Linked DNA regions of Homo sapiens: all the other regions are linked to region 3. The links are contacts of gene promoters, found by promoter capture Hi-C in blood cells and fetal thymus (Javierre and others, 2016). All regions are on one chromosome and are shown on one strand. Each heading gives the region's core, a stretch centred on a gene start or on the middle of the fragment in contact. The rest is flanking DNA. Distances are from core to core; before and after follow the strand shown.

Evidence for each region. Contacts are between HindIII fragments. The CHiCAGO score rates a contact against its expected background, and 5 or more counts as called.
Region 1: a contact is called between a fragment that was not itself captured here and the fragment with the promoter of OR6C68 in region 3, in 1 of 17 cell types (M1 macrophages). The highest score is 5.7, in M1 macrophages.
Region 2: a contact is called between a fragment that was not itself captured here and the fragment with the promoter of OR6C68 in region 3, in 4 of 17 cell types (monocytes, naive B cells, total B cells and 1 more). The highest score is 5.7, in monocytes.

What each region holds. Positions count from the first base shown.
Region 1 is chr12:55,172,610-55,176,958 of GRCh38, reverse strand. No RefSeq gene overlaps it. Among named protein-coding and RNA genes, the nearest start is that of OR10A7, 46 kb to the left of the region's middle. RefSeq lists enhancers at 3,719-4,349, 3,599-4,349. The HindIII fragment of the contact is 680 bases long and covers 2,212-2,891 here.
Region 2 is chr12:55,192,919-55,197,515 of GRCh38, reverse strand. It overlaps the pseudogene OR10U1P. Among named protein-coding and RNA genes, the nearest start is that of OR10A7, 26 kb to the left of the region's middle. The HindIII fragment of the contact is 1,346 bases long and covers 2,079-3,424 here.
Region 3 is chr12:55,490,721-55,494,873 of GRCh38, reverse strand. It overlaps OR6C68 (olfactory receptor family 6 subfamily C member 68), which reads right to left and starts at 2,496. Exons shown (of 1, transcript NM_001005519.2): 1 at 1,558-2,496. The coding sequence starts at 2,496. The coding sequence ends at 1,558. The HindIII fragment of the contact is 4,433 bases long and covers 1-3,149 here.

The sequences.
Region 1 (4,349 bases), core at 1,302-3,801, 320 kb after region 3:
GTACTGCAGGAAAAATAGGATTTTTAAAAACTATAAGGCATATAGAAATAATAAAGTAACAGAAATAAGCCCATTCTTACTTTAAATGTACATGATTAAACTCTCCAATCAAAAAAATAGATACTGACGGAATGGAAGAAAAAAACAAAAAAAGATTCAATTTTTCTGAAACAAAAGTGGTTTGCTGCTTGATGCACTAAAAGCCAATACTATGACACCAGGTTTTTGAGAAAAGAAAAGCTTTTTATTGCCAAGTTGACTCATAAGGAGACAGGAGTTGAGCTCAAGTCTTCCTCCCTGTGCTGGCTTTAAGGCAGTAATCTCATTAGAAAAGGTTTAGGGTGTTAATTCTGAAATTAGCAGGTGATTGATGAAAGGAAAGAGGAGGTCTGGAAAGTCCTTTGGTATGTGCAGTTATCTCTTCATACTACCTCATGCATTGCATATGCAAATTCAGGGGGAGTTAGTATAAAACATGCAGCGGAAATTAAGGCTGTGGTGACATCAGCAAGCTCATTATGTGCAAACTCTAGTTGGCCACTGATATGGTTTTGCTGTGTCCCTACCCAAATCTCATCTCGAATTGTAGCTCCCATAATTCCCATATGTTGCGGGAGGGACCCGGTGGGAGATAATTGAATTGTGGGGGTGGTTCTCCCATACTGTTCTTGTGGTAGTGAATAAGTCTCATGAGATCTGATGGTTTTATAATGGAGAAACCACTTTTGCTTGCTTGTGCCTTTCACCTTCCACCGTGACTGTGATGCCGCCCCAGCCATGTGGAACTGTGAGACTGAGAATGTGAGTCCATCAAACCTCTTTTTCTTTATAAATTACCCCATCTCAAGTACGTTTTTATGAGCAGCATGAAAATGGACTAATACAGCCGTCTTGGTTCCAACTGACTTCAGCAAATTTTTTCTTTATCTTACAGCGGAGAGAGTTTCAGCATTTCATCAAGTTGTTTATTTTCTTGTCTGCTATCCTGAAAACTCAATAATTTCTATTAATTACTAGTTTCTTACTTTCGGGGCACAGTTTTAGTAAGTTGTTTCTCTTCTTATCTGCCATGCAGTAAGCCCAAGAATTTATTAATTTTTTTAACCCCTTGAAGCATGGTTCACAACTATATACTTTCCTACAAGGAACTCACTTTAGATCTAAAGAGAGAAATAGATTAAAAGTGAAATGATAGAAAAGTAATTAAAAGAAGGCAGGAGTGGCTCCACTAACATCAGAAAAATAGACTTTAAATTTTTAAAAATAACAAGAAAAAAGGAGGACATATCAATAAAAGTTTTAATACCACAAGAAGATAAAACAATTATAAACATTCACACACTTAATCACAGACCATTAAAATATGTGAAGCAAAAATTGTCAAATGAGGGAGGAGTCCTGGGACATCTCACATATGTTCAGAATATGGAATTTAGTCGCATAGTTTTGGTATAAAACCACTCATCTTCTGTACATTATGTCTCCAAGTCTAGAAACCCTCCGCTTTACACTTTCTGGGAAGTAAACCTCAAATCTGCGGTATGGGAGAAGCATCCAGCATCAAGGAGTGGAGGAAGGATCCACACAGAAATAGCATATTTACAAGGATTGTTCTTGAAAATTATGAGGATCATAAATCACAAAATCAATGCAACCTGAATAAGCTATAAGTTTATTTCTCTTTCAAAAAATTGGAGTATTAAGGAAAAAGGGTGGAGATTATACAATGGCTCTATATTCATCAACCTGCCCCTTCTAGTGTGTTACTTCACACCCTTCAACAGGGGGATACTATCTTGTGATTAATTGCAAATATCACTCTGATATTTGCCAGCTCATCCTTACAAAGAGATAGAATTTACATATACTTCTCCATATTTTGAATCTAGTGTAGCCTTGAGAATTACATTGATTTCTTATAATGTGGTAACATTAATGTTTCCTCTTTTTATATTTGCAGATTTGATTTTCTGAAATTTTATTAAGAATTGTTGTAGCTATATTCATGAGAGATGGATATGTTTTCAAAGTAATGTTGGCCTCATGATGAGTTTAGATATGTTATTTCTAACATATCTCTGGGAGTGTTATATGGTATTTCTAATATAACTCTGGGAGAGTTAGAGTATAACTGGATTCTTCTAAAAATACACCACTGAATAGATTCAAAACATTAAATATTTAGTAATAAATCTGACTAATGTGTAAGCTTTGTACAGTTAAAAAAAAAGTCAGCAAAATAAAAAGACAAGCCACAGGCTGAAAGGAAATTTCTGCAAAGTCATATCTGATAAAGGACTGTTACCAAAATATACAAACAACTCTTAAAACTCAACAATATGAAAGCAAATAACTTAATATTAAAAATAGGCCACATAGCTTAACAGACACACAAAAAATAGCCAAATGTCAAATAAGCATATGAAAAGATGTTCTGCATCAAATGTCATCAGGGCAATGCAAACTAAAATAACACGATACTACCACACATCTATTAGAATGGCCAAAATCCAGAGCACTGGCAATGCAAAATACTGGTGAGGATATAGGGCAACAAGCATGTTCATTTAATTTTTATGGAAATGCAAAATGGCACGGCCACTTTGAAAGACAGGTTAGCCTTGTCTTACAAAACTAAATTCACTATTACAATATGACCCAGCCATCACACTGTGTAGTATTCACCCAAAAGAGTTGAAAACTTATATCCACGAAAAAACCTATGCCCTGATATCTGTAACACCTTTTTCATAATTACCAAAACAGAAGCAATCAAGATGCTCTTCAGTAGGTGAATGGATAAAGAAAGTGTAGCACATTTAGACAATAGAATATTATTCAACACTATACCCCAGATTGAGTTTTCTTTCCTAGGGCTTCGACTCAAAGCTTGGAATTGAGTTTGGGACAAAAGAACTGCTTCGGCGGGTTGTGTGGACACTTTACAAGCCAAATGCTAAGGTGAAGCTGTGGAACTGAGTCCTCCTCCAACAAGAGAGAGAAAAGGGTGTCTTGTGTACTGAGTCCTGGCCTAGTATAATGTCTTCTCAAAGGAAAAAAGGCCTCTGGCATAGAGAAGTCCCTTCTACTTGCAGGAGCGTGTTATTAGGTTGGTGCAAAAGCATTCATGGTCCCCATCATGCTAAGTAATGTCAAATAACACAACTACTTTTGCACCAACCCACCAACTCCTGACCTGGTGGAGAAAAGAAAAAATACAGCTTAAAGTGCAGGGATGTGTTAAGTGCTGATGGGGTGAAGAAAAGAAAATAAAACATCTTAAGTACAGAGTTGGAAAGATGCCTGGGGGAAGAATCTCCTATTCTTATGCAAATGTGTTCCTCCAACAGGGAGAGAAATTTTACTTGCTGTTGGACTGGAGAGAAACTTTTCGATGCTGCTGGGAATGCTGGCCAGCGTGCTGTGTGGAGCCCTTGGGCCAGGTGCCCCAGCCCCAGCTGGGTGGAGGTGGGCAGGGAGTCACCACTCACCTATCTGTCTTGCATGCATGCCTGTGACCATTGGGGTGGTGGTGGAACACCCCCAATATTGTAAAAGAAAAGATAGGTGCCATTACAATCCCCCCCAAAAGAAGGAAAATGCCATAGAAAAGACTGGGTTGGACTGAGGTTGACATTCGCAATCCCCAAGGCAACGGAAGTGGAGGGTCACAGTTTTCTCTACCTTCAGAAGATGTCTGAGGGCAAGAAAAAGCTGAGAAACAAAAGGGAAAGAGGTTTTGTGGGGGATTCTGCATTTGATTCACCCTTCCTCATGTCCCCATACAGGCCACCAAAATGATGTGGGATATTTTGCTCCTTAGTTTAGCTAAAATCCACGTTCTTGCCTCACAACCAGGAAAAATTAGGCACATGGACACTTTGAAGGGTGAGAAGGACAGATTTATTAGGCAAAAAGAAAACTCTCAGCCAAGAAAAACGGGGTCCTGCCAACAGGCTCACACCTCATTGAATACCAGGCCACCACACTCAAGCTGAAGAGGCCAGCCTTCTCCTAACTACATAAGGCACCAATTCCCAGTGGCTCCACTCATTCTCCCAGTGCCCAGGCAGGCCCTCAGTTTATGGCAGGCATGCCCAGACAAGACCCTGGGCAGGTTCCCTCATCTTCACAAAAGTATCTGATATAAACACTTATGGGGTGTGTCAGAGATTCAAGGAAGATAAGGGGACCCTCTTTTTGGTAGATCTTTTTGGTAGAAATTTAAAAATTTATCCAAAATATTACATACATATGCAAACAACCAAGATAGCCAAAATGATTTCAAAAAGAACAAAACTGAAGGCATCAAACCTCTTGATTTTACGAGAACTTAAAAAGCTACAATA
Region 2 (4,597 bases), core at 1,502-4,001, 300 kb after region 3:
GCGCGGTGGTGGGTGCCTGTAATCCCAGGTACTTGGGAGGCTGAGGCAAGAGAATCACTTGAACCCTGGAGGCGGAGTTTACAGTGAGTCAAGATTGCGCCATTGCACTCCAGCCTGGGGGTCAGAGCGAGACTCCATCTCAAAAAAATAAATAAAAATAAATAAAAATAAAAAAGCTCATGGTTCTCCCATCTTAAAAACGTAGTGAATCACAATAAGTCATTGTGTCCTGTCCTTTCATTTTCTCCAGTTATTACCCTGTCTTCCTCCTGCCCTTCATGGCCAAATTTCTAGAATGTATTGCTCCTACTGGTTTTTTTCATTTTTAAAATTCTATTTCCTCAAAAACAACTTCACTCTGGTTCATGTTCTTACTTCTCTTTCCAAATTATTTTTTTCTGAAGTCATCAATAGCCTGTGTGGAGCTAAAAGTCAACAGATAATTAAAAGCTATTTTTTCACACCATCTCAGAAATATTTGGTGCAGTTGATCACTCCCTTCCTAAATACTCTCTTTTCTTGCCTTCAAAAATACCACATAGATAAGATGCACCCTTTCATCTCAAGTACTTTTTCCAGGACCATTGAAAAACTCCTGGACTCTAGGAGGATGTGCGATAGATAGCATGATGGAATCTGGAGTCTATATGTTGTTGTTATTATCAGTAGTGCATATACTAATCTGGCCATTATCTCACCAAACATTGTTTCCTCTTACCCACTTACTCAGGATAAAAGCAGATCTGAGGCAGCAGGAGAGGACTTTTTACTATTCTCACTTAAATACCCCACATCCAATCATGTATCCATATTTAAAAAAAATTCCTCTAATTTCAGAATCAGATTGAGAAATAAACACAACACAGAGTCCAGGTGGGAATTAATGTGGAGAAATTAGCAGCTGTTTTTGTTTTGTAAGTATTTTGTGGCAAAAACATATCAAAGAAATACAGCTATGTACTTACTCTTACTCCCAGACCCTGGTGGGGAGATTTGGCAAAATATCACTGATTATGCATGATGTGACCTTCTGCTGCAGTATTTCAGGGATGCTATACCATCAAATAGAATGCGTTTTCTTAAATATTAGGTTGGTGCAAAGTAATGGCAAAAACCCGCAATTAATTTTGCACCAACCTAAACATTCTCAATGTGGTATATTCATTCTGGCAGTACCTCCACACTGATGGAAGAGCACTCCCCAAAACACATGGCTTTCATCTCTGAGGCAGCATGAGTGGCACAAAAAAAGCATACATATTTTTTTAGGAGGGAGAGACAATGTCTAAAACTCCTGCCTTTTGGTTTGGCATGGGAATCGTGGGAGGCGAGAATAGCAGTCCCATCTAACGCATTAGTTTCAAAACTGATCGATCTTGTAACCTCTTTTACTTGCCTTACTCTATGTCCCAATGAATTTACCATATTGACCTGACAGTGAAAAGAAAATGTGTCCGGAATGGAGCAATGGGGATCATTCAGAATGAAAAATATTTTCATTTCTTGAAGACAGTAGAAGAAAAATACATTTTTTAATGTTTTTGACCAATTACTTTAATTAATTCCATTGGAAATTTGGGGTTTTCTTCCCGTGCCTATTTTTTTAATGCTGCTAGCAATTGAATAATAAATAATGAATAAAGTGAATGCTATTTTGGGGGTTTATGGAGGCTACTATGTTCCATGCACTGTGCCTACCAATATTACAAAGGCCTAATTAGTCACTGTCCATTTGAGGAGCTTAAAAAGGATTACTATGGCAAACATCCATAGAGTTTAATAATAATTTCAGTTGTATGATGGGTTCCAATTAGCAACTTTTAGTTTTATGCATTGGAACAGGTGATATAACTGACAGCAATAGGTATCTCTGGAAATGTCTTTAACAACTGAAAACCAACTTGCACATTAAACACTCATTGTTTTTAATATACTCCTCTTGAGACAAATATAATTAAGCTGCACAGTGGATGTATTCCCTATGGTCTCTAGTAGAAATAAAAATACTGCCTATTCTATCACTGTGCTATAATTTAGAGCCATAGGAAGTCTAGGAGCCCAAAAAGGAAAAGAAAGCTTACCTTGTGGTTCTAGGTATGTTCTCCTATTTGTAATTTCTTGCAAATTTACACTGAGGTTGTAGAAAGGAGATTCTGTCGATTTTGGCTTTCTTGGATCTTAGCTTTGTAATTATTTGCTTATTCTGTTCAGATCAAGTAAAATATGTACATAAATACATAGATAAACAGCTGGAAATATATTCCCTTTTAAGCCCTTAAGTGTAGCTTTAAGGAAGGTTATAGAATTTGGAAGACCAGAGTATAACACCTTTACATCTGAATCTATTAATTTTTATGTGACTCCTTTAAAATTATAAGTCTTCATATATTGCTTGCATAATAGCTTCTGTATATAATTAGTGATAAGACAAAAACAAAAGATTCAGAATATGCAACTTAAAAACCATTGTTTTTTCCAAATGTTTGTGAAAATTGCATATAATCCATAACTTAAAATCAGGAAGAAATATGTATTCGATGTAATTGTGTAGTTTAGAAAGATTTAACAGAAGAAATCCAGGTGTCTAGATTCTCATCTCAGACTACTGATTCTAGGAAAGCTCCTTTGCTGTGGTTCAGTAGAGAGATGTGTTAGGTGACTGCATTCCCATTAACCTGCCTTCTTTGTTGTCTGCACAGATGTTTAGCTCTGAGCCCACCATAGATGGAAATCAGTCCCTGTGTGCCAAATTCACATTTGTGGCTTTTTCTTCTATAGAAGAATTACAGCTTGTACTCTTCATTGTGTTCTTAATCATCACTTATGCACTATAGGAGGAAATATCATCATCATCTCCCTGATCTGGATCACCCCTGCCCTGCACACTCCAATGTATTTCTTCCTGGTGAACCTCTCATTTCTGGAGATGTGCTATACCACCAGTGTGGTGCCTCATGCTGGTGCACCTGCTGGTGGAGACCAAAACCATAAGTGTGGGTGGCTGTGCAACCCAGATGTACATATTTGCCATCTTGGGACTGACAGAATGCTGCTTGCTAGCAGCTATGGCTTACGATCGCTTTGTAGCTATTTGTTACCCACTGCATTACACTCTCTTCATGGGCCCTCGTGTTTGTTTGAAATTGGCTGCAGCATCTTGGTTCACTGGAGTGGTGGTGGAGTCAGCCCAGATCACCCTGATCTTCACTTTGCCTTTCTGTGGAACAGGAAAGATTCAACACTTTTTTGTGACATAATGCCTGTACTGAAACTGGCTTGTATTGATACCTCCCAAATTGAAATTGTGATGTTTTCTCTCTCCGTGCTATTTATTGTGAGTCCTTGTTTCCTCATTCTGTGCTCCCACATGCACATCCCTGTGACCATCTTGAGAATCCCTTCAGCAGCTGGAAGACACAAAGCTTTCTCCACTTGTTCTTCTCATATCTTGGTTGTTTCTCTGTTCTATGGCACTGCCTTGTTCACTTATCTGCAACCTAAGACTGCACACACTCCAGAAACAGACAAAGCAACTGCACTCATGTACACAATGGTCACACCTGCTTTGAATCCTGTTATCTATACCTTGAGGAACAAGGAAGTAAAGGAAGCCTTTCAAAGGATAACCCAAAGGAACTCTCTTAGACAAACGGCCTAAACCAGTCATAGTAGCTGAAACCTATGCTACTGTACAGAGAGGTTACCCGATTTTATGATTCTTCTACCAACATATTCTTTTATTAAAGCATTTATAGCCTAGCTACCAAAAAACATTTGGATTTGTCACACATTTTTCAATGTCTGTAAGTAAAAGGAAACTACACAGTAGATTCATTCAATTGTTAATCATTCATTCATTCAACAGTATTTACAGGGCATCTCATGTGTCAAGCTACCATTTTCTCCTTCTCCAGTGGTAATAGCATTAAGTCCAGTATGTTTCATGCCATTTTCCTGAGGAAAATGAAATATCCTTTATGAGTATAAAACAAAAAATGAAATAAACAGGAAGTAATACTATTTTAGTATCAAATATAGTCTATTAGAATTTAAGTTCTTAATTGGAGTATGCTCCTTTAATTAGTGTGCTCTCTGTACATCTTAAGGTCATACATATTAAATAACCAACTGTTAATAAATACTAATGAGTGGTGTACACCATGAAAGAACTTTAAATATTTAGTTTGTAAATCCAGTGAGAGACCTGAATTCTTTATCTGAAACATGAGTTTTCCTTTGCTCTTATCCACCTGTTTTTTGTTGGTTTGTTTATTTGTTTTTCATGTGAGTAAAGACTTAGGGAAATGTCTGCCTTTGAGACATACAATCTTATTACACCTATTGTAAACCCTGTTTAAATGTATTGATTTAAATATAATTTTCTTTTGTCACGGTGTATATATTCTAGCTAATATATATTGTTTTTGTCTCTTTGAATAATAAAAAGCAAGTCTTCTATAAGACACTAAAACAAAGAACTTTAAAAAACTGTTGGTTTCTTATGGCAACTTTAGAGAAGTTGACAAAAATGTAAATGTTCAGAGACATTTTGTCAACCTGAAAGTTTTTTGATTTTATCTTAGTGTTGATACTCTAG
Region 3 (4,153 bases), core at 1,247-3,746:
CTGCCTCCTGGGTTCATGCCATTCTCCTGCCTCAGCCTCCCTAGTAGCTGGGACTACAGGTGCCCACCACCTCGCCCAGCTAATTTTTTGTATTTTTAGTAGAGACGGGGTTTCACCGTGTTAGCCAGGATGGTCTTGATCTCCTGACCTCGTGATCGGCCCGCCTCGGCCTCCCAAAGTGCTGGGATTATAGGCGTGAGCCACCGCGCCCAGCCAGTTTTTAAAAATTTTAATATCCTTCCATTATAAGATCAAGTTCTATATCATTTGATAAGTACTACATCTTATGCTGTAATTCCCTAATTGACTTACACATTGCCAAGTGATGTTCATTTGGTTATTTTCAATCTTTTACTATTACAAAATGACTGCAATGAGTATAATAATTGGCAAGTAGATTCTGGCATAAATCCCTAGATGTTGATTTCTAGATGAAATCTTATATGTACTGTTAGTAAATATAAATTCCAATGTTTTCAAGTAAATTGTGCATTGAGGTGTATGTTTTACTTTAAGTGTTAGCATACTGGCTAATATTGAACATACGAAAAATTTAGTTTGTGCAAATATGATGGGTGAAATGTATATCATGACTTTAATGTTTAAATCTGTGGCTAATAATGAAGTTGTGCATCCCTTCCTATTGCTATAGGTAATTTTATTTTTTAGTAAAATAAATATCTAATATTTTCTTGGTATTTATAGTAAATTTGTTGCCTTTTTTGATTCATAGAAACTTCCTACATATTTATTATATTAAGCCTTTCATGTTAACTGTACCATAAAGCTATTCTTTTACTTATGTTTTCTCTTTAATATTTTTCATGAAATTTTCTCTTTTTGCTGTAGATATTTTAAAGTTTGTTACTTAAATCTGACTTTTTTTCAGTGAGGCAAGGAATTTGTATCTTGATTAAGAGTGAATTCTCATAGACCAGGTGCAGTGGCTCACGCCTGTAATCCCAGCACCTTTGGGAGGCCGAGGTGGGTGGATCACTTGAGACCAGGAGTTTGAGATTAGCCTGGCCAACATGGTGCAACCCTGTCTATACTAAAAATACAAAAATTAGGTGGGCGTGGTGGCGCATGCTCTTAGTTCCAGTTACTTGGGAGGCTGAATCATGAGAATTGCTTGAACCTGGAAGTTGGAGGTTGCAGTGAGCCAAGATGGCACCATCGCACTCCAGCCTGGACAACAGAGTGGGAATCTATCTCCAGGGGAGAAAAAAAAAAAAAAAAAAAGAATGACTACTCATAGAAGTTGGGAAAAAAATAACTTCACACCCATATTTTAAAATTATCAGAGAAAATCAACTGGAAAGAAGGAAAAAAGAGTGGTTTAATCTGGTTAAGGATTAAAAGTGATATATTTTGTCTATCATAGAATATTATTCAATAATTAATTTCTCAGTACGTAAATTAATAAAAAATTAATGATTAAATGGCTATGCAGTCAACTTGATTGCTCTATAGACTAAGAAATTACAAAGTTGGTTATTGGCTTTATGAAAAATATGAAGCAGATCTTTTATATTGATTTATCAACTTAGGTACACTTTACTTTTTTAAACGAAATGCAATTTTTTTGAGTGAGTCATGAAAGGCTTGTTTAACTTGCTCATTCCTAAGAGTATATATGAAAGAATTCAACATAGGTGATATGGATGAAATAAGCACTGACACACCTTTATTAATGTTTACCTCTTCTTTTGCAGATGGCTTGATATAGATGAAGATGCAGCTGCCATAAGTGATGGAAACCACAGTAATATGTGAAGAACAGGTAGAAAAGGCTTTTTTCTTTTGTTGAACAGAAGGGAATTTTAGAATTGTTCTTATGATATATGTGTAGGACAGAACTACACATACAAGAGTGATAATAAAGGTTAATACAGCAGAGGCTACAACCATCTGCTCAATTAATGATGTGTCTGAGCATGGTATTTTCAGAATAGGCAATGCATCACAGCCAAAATGATTGATGACATTAGAGTCACAGAATTCTAGATGAAAACCTAAGCTAAGTGGTGGGAGGATAATCATAAGTGCTGCCATCCAACAACAAATAACCATTGTTTTGCACACTTTGTTGCTCATGATTGCCATATAATGCAAGGGTTTGCAGATGGCCACATAGCGATCATATGACATGGTAGCCAAAAGAAAAAATTCAGTTACCCCAAAGAGGTCTGCAAAAAATAGCTGAATGACACATGCATTATACGTTATTATTTTGTTCCCAGTTGAGATACTGTATAAGAATCTTGGAACACAGGTAGCTGTAAATGAGATTTCTAAGAAAGATAAATTTTGGAGAAAAAAATACATGGGTGTTTTCAGGTGGGGATCCAACATGGTGAGGGCGATAATGGTCAGTTTCCCTGTTACACTCAACATGTAGGTGATAAATAGAAACATGAAAAGCAGAACCTGCAGCTGAGGATCTTCTGTCAGTCCCAGAAGGATGAATGTTGTTATTGCTGTGTGTTTTCTCATTACTGACTTCTGCATTTTTCCAAAACTACATGTAAATGTCAGAGAAATTTGAACTGCAGCATTCAATAAAAAAAGCAGCTAATGATGAACACTCTCATGCATGTTTCATTTATCCAACATCATAGGTTTTACTTGTTGATCTGCAGAAGTTTATAGTGAGAATATAAATAACATATATGTACATGTTTTAGTACGTTGAGCTCCCTTGATCTATTTATACAAAATGGCCAAATAAGATTATTTTATAAATTTTAGTCAACGAACTATAGAATAACTTTTCTTTATTAATCTTCTATAGTAATTAATTTATAGTGTATTAAACATTTTAACTCATTCTGAGTTGTGCCTTTTTATTGGATTGCATTATTTTTTGAAATATGACTGTTTTTTATGCTGCCAAATGTTTTTCTGCAACTCATAAGCTACATTAAAATAATTCGCTTTAGTTTCATCTCTGTTTTAAAATTTGGGAATTGTAAAACCCTAAAATAAAACATACATCAGGTTCCAAACAAAACATTTCAATTCCCTCTAAGATGTATATTTATTTGCTTTTTGACTGCTTTTTAATTGTTGGTTATTCATTTTAAGAGAAAACCATCTTTTGACCCTAAGGCATCCACGTTTATAATTTTACATATCTCTTCTAAGCTTCATTATCTAAATCTTATATCTACTCCCTGGATAGTGCTGTGTAGTATAATATGATTATTTTTCAGTGCCCTTTTATCACAGTGCAAGACAGTTTTGATTATAATAAATGAACTGCTGAAAAATATAAAAACTATGTCTTCCTGCGTTCAGTTAGCTACTCAGATTAGAACAAGTTATACAACATGGATAAAAGTCAAGACAAAAATTGCTGAATATCCTCGCCATGACACAATATTCTCTCCTTTTTCATTTCCTTCAGATCTACATTCTTTGACTCTATTTCCACAGTACGCATTCGTTTCTCAATCTGTTACTCTCTTATTTTTCACCTCACCAGATTTTTAAAAGTGCTTAATCAGTTAACTTCCTGTGACTTAACCCAGTATAATCATAATATGACAAACACAAATCTCTTGCTATGCTTCAGGCAAATCTCTTGCTATGCTTCTCTTTTAAGTATATTACATATATAATTAATATAATCCTTAGGACAACCTGTGAAGTAGGGAGGTATATTATCTCCACTTAAAAAATGAAAAAGCTGATCGACAAAGAGGTAAAGTATGTGGCCATTGTTTCAGGATAGTAAGTGGCTAGAGAAACCCCAGAGTCCCAGTTCTTTAATCACTGCGCTGTGTTTGTGGTGAACACTTTACCTGAATGTTTTAATTTCATGAAGATAATATTCTGTCTATTGGTAATTGAAACAAAGCTGGGGTTACTACATAGTTTATTATCTAAACCAAGATACTTGAGAAGCACAGCGGGGGCAGTTAATAATTACGTTGATACAACTGGTGTAAACAGGGCTATCAAGAGCAAAAACTAAATGTGTGCCATTCTCTATACAATTACTTACTCCTTGATTCAGGTGTAATATTAGGGCTAATGGAGATTAAACTTTGCCAAAGTGCAACTGGCTAATTTTCCCCATCTTATTGTTTATTTCTTTTAGTATATTGATCCCTCAATGTTTCCTCAATATTTCTTTCAGTGAAATAAT